Regions from separate parts of the Homo sapiens genome. Here region 1 is linked to region 2. The links are contacts of gene promoters, found by promoter capture Hi-C in blood cells and fetal thymus (Javierre and others, 2016). All regions are on one chromosome and are shown on one strand. The core of a region is centred on a gene start or on the middle of the fragment in contact, and the rest is flanking DNA. Distances in the headings are between cores, read along the strand shown. Region 1 overlaps TNRC6C (trinucleotide repeat containing adaptor 6C). Region 2 holds the start of SEPTIN9 (septin 9).

The links. Contacts are between HindIII fragments. The CHiCAGO score rates a contact against its expected background, and 5 or more counts as called.
Region 1: a contact is called between a fragment that was not itself captured here and the fragment with the promoter of SEPTIN9 in region 2, in 4 of 17 cell types (total CD4 T cells, total B cells, total CD8 T cells and 1 more). The highest score is 7.0, in total CD4 T cells.

The regions. Positions count from the first base shown.
Region 1 is chr17:78,019,253-78,022,558 of GRCh38, reverse strand. All of the region lies in intron 3 of TNRC6C (trinucleotide repeat containing adaptor 6C), which reads right to left. Among named protein-coding and RNA genes, the nearest start is that of TNRC6C, 62 kb to the right of the region's middle. The HindIII fragment of the contact is 164 bases long and covers 1,465-1,628 here.
Region 2 is chr17:77,280,038-77,283,002 of GRCh38, reverse strand. It overlaps SEPTIN9 (septin 9), which reads right to left and starts at 1,504. Exons shown (of 12, transcript NM_001113491.2): 1 at 1,449-1,504. The coding sequence starts at 1,467. It overlaps SEPTIN9-DT (SEPTIN9 divergent transcript), which reads left to right and starts at 1,106. Exons shown (of 3, transcript NR_136503.1): 1 at 1,106-1,391. RefSeq lists a silencer at 1,010-1,173 and an enhancer at 2,775-2,965. The HindIII fragment of the contact is 6,769 bases long and covers 1-2,965 here.

The sequences.
Region 1 (3,306 bases), core at 297-2,796, 740 kb before region 2:
ACCACTGGGACTAGAACTCACATCTCTGACCATGCTTTTCCACCATGCTGCTGTTAATCTTTCTTAAATGACTGAAGGACAAATTCAGGGTTGTTTTTCTTCAAAACCTTCAGAGGAAAAGGAGTTCATGCTACAGAAAGGAAGAAGTAAGCAAATCATAGATGAATGTTATCAGTCCATTTTTCAATATAAACCACCAAATTCTAAGACATTTGGATATGGAATATGGTTTCCTGTGTGCTACCTGCCTGATGCATTATGTGTAGTCAATCTTATATCTAAGACAGACTCATTTTTAAAGAGTCAAAGTATTCCTAACCAGTCTTCCCTTTCCACCTTGAATAACTGTTATGTGAGTAGGGCAGGACTGGCAGGTGAAGTAAGAATGCCCCTTACATTTTTAAAGGATGGGGGAAAAACTCAAAGACAAATATATGACAGAGACCATATATGGCCAGCAAAGTCTAAAATTCTGGGAATGACCTTGGTGAGAGTCTCACTGCCTCTGGGCATCTTTTTGGCCCAAAGGCTAGACCTACAGGAAAAGAGCCAGATACTAATAGAGTTCCAACTACTTGTAATATTAGACTATCAGACATAGAAACCTTCCAGAGGAAAAATCCTGGTAATATATCCCAAAGTCTTATGTAGGTATTGTTTTATTTTAATTAAAAAATTATAAATAAATAGACCAGGCATGGTGGCTCACACCTTTAATCCCAGCACTTTGGGAGGCCGAGGCAGGCAGATCACCTGAAGTCAGGAGTTCAAGACCAGCTTGGCCAACATGGTGAAACCCCATCTCTACTAAAAATACCAAAATTAGCTGGGCATGGTGGCATACCCCTGTAATTCCAGCTACTTGGGAGGCTGAGGCAGAATAATGACTTGAGCCAGGGAGGCAGAGGTTGCAGTGAGCCGAGACTGCGCCATCGCACTCCAGCCTGGGTGACAGAGTGAGACTCTATCTCAAGAAAATAAAAATAAAAAAATAAATAACCTATTCCATGTCTCCTCTCCATAATCTTTTTTATGATTACTGAATGAAAAGTTAAAATGATGCTATTTATCAAGAAGAAACAGGAACATATTAAGTATGGAGAAATGAAATCACTCTCTTAGAAACGCAGGTGCTTTTACTTTATAACAGCCTTGAGCTATGAGCACAACAGGACCAGTGAACGAGCACAAGCACATCAGGCTTGTCTGAATGCGTGGCCCACGCCCCTCCTGTGCCCCTCAGAGACGCCTTTGTGCTCTGCTGGCCCTCTCACTGCTAATGGACTTCAAGTCTTTGTACTCATTCTCCAGCCCTGGACTCTCTGGAGAGGTTGTCCATGCTCACCATTCTGACCATCATTTCTGTGCTACTGATGCCTGAGTACTGTCCCAGTGTTGCCCTCGAGCTCCAAGTCCAGCCTCCTTCTTCAGCTACCTACTGGACAGTGCTGCCTGAAGGAAGCTTTCTTTCCTACTAAACACATCCAAAAGTCAAACAAGAATTTCCTGGTCTGAGTCCAGGACTGTGTTGGTTGCCGTAGGAAGGCACTGGAGCACTTAGGTTTCTCACTTAAGTGAATCAACAATGAACTGGGGAAATAAAGAAGACACACAGAGTATTTAAAGCTTGTGCAATTGACTGGAAATCTCAGACAAGTGTAGAGGGGAAGGATGACCATGTGCTGCCCAGTACAGCAGCCACTGGCCAAGTGTGGCTATTGAGCCTTGAGGTCTAAATTGAGATGTACTTAGTATTAAAACATATACTGGATTCTAAAGACTTAGCACCAAAAAAAAGAGAAATACCTCATTAACAATTTTTCTGTTGCTTTCACATTGAAATGGCGATATTTTGGATATATCAAGTTAAACATTATTAAAAGTAATTCCGCCTGTTACTTTTTAGATGATGCAACTAGCCTATTTAAAATGATTCATGTGGCTCACATTTGTGGCTTCCATTATTTCTTTTGAATGGTGCTGGTCTAGAAATGGCATTGTATTATTGGAAAGGATAAAGTTTAAGCTAGTTTCTCAGAAACCGCTAAATAATTACCTGTTTTCATAAAGACTGAAAGTGAAACAGAGATTGAGAAACTACAAGTTGTGACAGATCACAAGCTTTTTCAGGTGGGAGAATTTCCCTTACAACTATTTACTCTACACTAAAGTACTAGCACATTATTTTACAAACAGAAAAAAATGCCACAAAGCATGTATTCAATTAATAAAAAGACCAAGGGTCCCGGAGTATAATGCAAGCATGGCACACTCAGTTTACCCACGTACTTGTTCTCACAGTGATATTTCCAGCTTGCAATGCTAATGCTATGGCTGGTAGTCTACAGGTCATCCTGGACCCTAAGAAAAGGGAAGAGAAGCCTCACTCAGCAAAGCAACAGACAGAGGAATGCGGAATTCTGACCCAGTTGAGCTGTACACCTCTGGGTCTCTTTTATATTATGCAGTGATAAACCTTCTGACTTAAGCCAGTAATTTTTGGATCTTTGAATCAAGCAGCCACTTAATAATCTGAAGGGATAAGTGGAAGATCTCAAAATCTGGATCTATTCTTGTAACACAGATAAATTAAATGGGCATTTTCTTTTTTTGTCTAGCCATAAACTCTTTTCAGATCCTCACTTATGGGTCTATTACTGTCTAAAAAACCAGGGCATCAAAGCAATCTTGACATTCCCCTTCTTCAAAAAGACCTGACTCTAGGGCCATACCTCACAGATAAGGACTCACATGGGAACCTACCCTTTTGCATATCAGCATTTTCATGCAGCAGGAGAATACAGGAAGGCAATGGGAACTTTAGTTTCTTTATGATTTTTCAACAAATCATTTGTTTTATTTAAGAAATATTAAGATAGCAACCATTTAATAACTACATATATAATTTTAAAAAACTTTCAGCAAGATGGAAATTTTGGTTACTCTTTGCCTAGTAAGCTTTTGCCTTTTGTTTTTTAAATGAGGGTGACATCTGCTGGTGAAAAGGTAGATGGTAACTCTTTATATAAGAAAGCAACAGTCTTTTAAAACAATTTTCTTTCCAAGGATTTTCTGCTTTCAGCTAAAATTTTCAGGTAGTGTTGTCATAACAGGGCCAAATAGAGAGATTCCCACATTTTGCTTTTTCTAAAATGACAGGCTACAGTATGGACACAAAGTTCAGGCTGCTGTCCCTTCAGACTTTGGAGAACTTGATTTTGAAAGAGCTCCTTTTCAGACTTTTCTACTACATTGTCATCTCTAAGATACCAAGACAGAAGGAACTTGCCTTGCTGACCCAGCCTC
Region 2 (2,965 bases), core at 255-2,754:
AGGACCCACGACCTGGGAGGACCCCGGTCACCCCCACTGTCTGGACCCACCAGTGGGAGGTAAAGTGTAAGAAACCAAGGGCAAAGGGCCCTCCCTGGGCGGGCTAGAGATCCCCTGGAAAGGGCCATGCACCGCGCGATCCCCACAACAATCTCAAGTATTTGGAGCATGTTGGGGAGGAAGCCCCGGTGCCAAAACCAAGCATGTGCCACCTGGAAGCCCGCTCCCGCCCACCAGCACACCAACCCACCCACGCTCCTGACAGAGCTGTGCTCCGGGTGCGTAGAGGGCCATCTTGTTCGCAACAACCGGGTGAAAGTTGAAATTCTAAGCTACTGACCCAGAAGGGTATTTTCGGGGAAGTTCTGAGTAATCCTCTTTGAGACAAGGTACTTTATCACTCATTTTGGTTCCTAAATATGGAAAGCCAGAGGAAACCGACAATGGCCCAAAGGCAGGGGGATGGCCCCGATGACTCCTTCACCTCCAACTAAGGCCCATGATTCTGTTCTCCTATCAATAAAAATTAATTCATGGATCCTTGGCAGGTACCTTTCTATCTGAATGAATTAAAGGAGGGACATTAAACAAACGGTTTCTAGATTTAGAAGAGGAGACGCTATTTATAATTTGAGGACTGAGGAGGACAAAGGATCCTGCCTGCCTGGATCCTTTGGAGAAAACCACAAAGGAAAAAAAAAAGGAAGGAAAAGACAAATAATGAAGATCTGGATTTCTCTTAACCTGCCCTTGTGGCCTCGGTGTGCCCATCTGTGAAATGGAACTTCAGAGTGCCAGAGCGGGAGCCTCTTATGAAATGAAAGCTCCTGAACCGGCTCATGGTGAGGCCCAAGTCAGGCCCCCTTCGCCTACTTAAGGCGGGCCCTGCTAGGGTGGAGTGAGGATGTCAGCCGCGGGCGGCGTCCTGAGCGCAAAACGTGAACCCGAGTCGCCAAGTTTGGGCGCTGCTGGACGGTCCCATCTGGAGGCCGTCCCGTGCCCCACTAAGTAGAGGAGAAACCGAAGAGAATCCGAAGAAAGGATGCTGCGGCCTGGACCACCAGCCCTAGAGGCTGAACCCAAGGACACCCCTCCACCTAGCCCCGACCCCATTCACCCACACAGACGCACAGGGACCCAAAGCACCCGGCCGACCTGGAAAGTCAGCGATTCCTGCGAGGGTGCAAGGGGCGAGGAAGAGGGAGCGTCCCCCAGGGCAGCCCCTCCGACACTCGAGCAAGGGCTGGAGACAGCGCAGGGGACGGTCGGCTCAGGTCGAAAGCGGCCCGACAGCGGCCCTGTCCTGGGAGGAACTCGACCTGCAGTGTGCCCGCCGCGGGGACTCGCTCAGCTCCGGGGGCGCCTCGCCACTCCCGGCCGCAGGCACTCAGGTGAGCAGCGCTGGTCCCGGGACACCGACCCCTCCCCACCCCGGGCGCGAAGCCCACCTGAGTAAGACTTCTTCATGGTGCCTCCGTGGCCGCCGCTCCCAGGAAAGTGTGGCGGCGAGGCAGCGGGGCGCGCGCTCCCAGGGCGCTAATCCTGGGCCGGTAGTAGGAAGGCGGGAAGAGGGGGCGGCCCGCCGTCTGGAGTGCACCGACCGGGCCCCGCCCCGGCCCCGCCCCCGCCCCGCCCCTCCCCGGAGATGCGCATAGAACCCCGGCCCAGCCGGCTGTGGTCCCGCCCCTGACCCGCCCCCTCCCCGCCCCGTGAACGTGCGCGCCGAGCCCCACCCCCGCCCACCCCTGCGCTGCGCTGCACCTGGCGGAGCGGGGCTGGCGGGCGCCGGGCCTGGGAGGGGGCGCCCCCGCGCGGCAGCGCAGACCAGACCAGACCAGGCCAGGCCGGGGGTGGGGGCCGCCTGCGTGGCCCGCCGCGCCCGCAGCTCTGCACCCCCAGCTCCCCGCGCTGGCGCCAATGGCTGGTTCCGGGAGTCGCCGCACTTCCCAGTCCCGAGTCCGGGCGGGGCGGGCCCGGCCAGGTGGAAGCGGGCGGAGGTGCGGGCGCTCCGGGCGGCCCCGCCGGGCGAGGCGGCGGCGCCGGGCACCGCGGCGGCGCCGGGCACAGCCGGGGGTCGGAGCCGGGGTGCCGGCTTAGTGGGCCGGGGTAGGGCGGGACAGGACACCTGTCCTGCTACTTTTCTGGTAATCAAAAGGGCAGAGTGCGTCGATTGAGTTGGAGCCTTAGTTTCCTCACCTGTAAATGGGCGCGTTGGACAGATGATCATTTGTTCTCCCTGCGCTGGGCACCGTGCGCAGCTCGGTGTATCGGTGCAGCGGGGCAGACACAGGGAGCCGCCCTTTACAACTCGGGTAACGCAGGCAGTGGTGAGAGGATGCAAAACTTGCACGGAAGAATTCTCTCTACTTGGATATCCTTAAAGTCTCCACGATAAAGCGGTGTTTCCAACGTACAGAGGAAGAAGTGACTAATTATGACTGGAGGGTGGTGTCAGAGTTTTATTGAGGCGAAATCAAAACAGGGTTTTAAGGAATGAGCAGGAATTAGCCAGGCAGCCAAGGTGATGGAAGGCAGCTGTTCCCGAAAGAGGGAAGGGCGTGGCGGAGCCTGGGAGGCCTGAGGTATCACAGCGAGTGTGGAGAGACAGAGGCAGGGCCGGGCCCTTGCACAGCTGCCAATGGAGGCCGTAGAGGACGAGAGGAAGGCGGGAGGCCAGTTGGGAAGCGCTCGCTAGTTCTGGGTAGGGGCGCAGCATTGCCTTCTCCTGCAGCCCTCCCAAAAATGCACAGGAGGCTGAAAGTGTCACTAACAGCCCCGAAAAATCCTCCTCCTCTTCCCCTCTCCTTTACTCTCCTTGGGGGTCCAAGAAGCATTTTCATTTCCTGCCTGAGTGTGGGAAACTTATATGCATGAGAACGGAGGCCTATGTGGCACCGTGGGTTCGTTCCGGCCCACCTGCTTCCTTTCTTGAGTAATCTGTCCAGCCACAGCCCTGCAGAGGGAG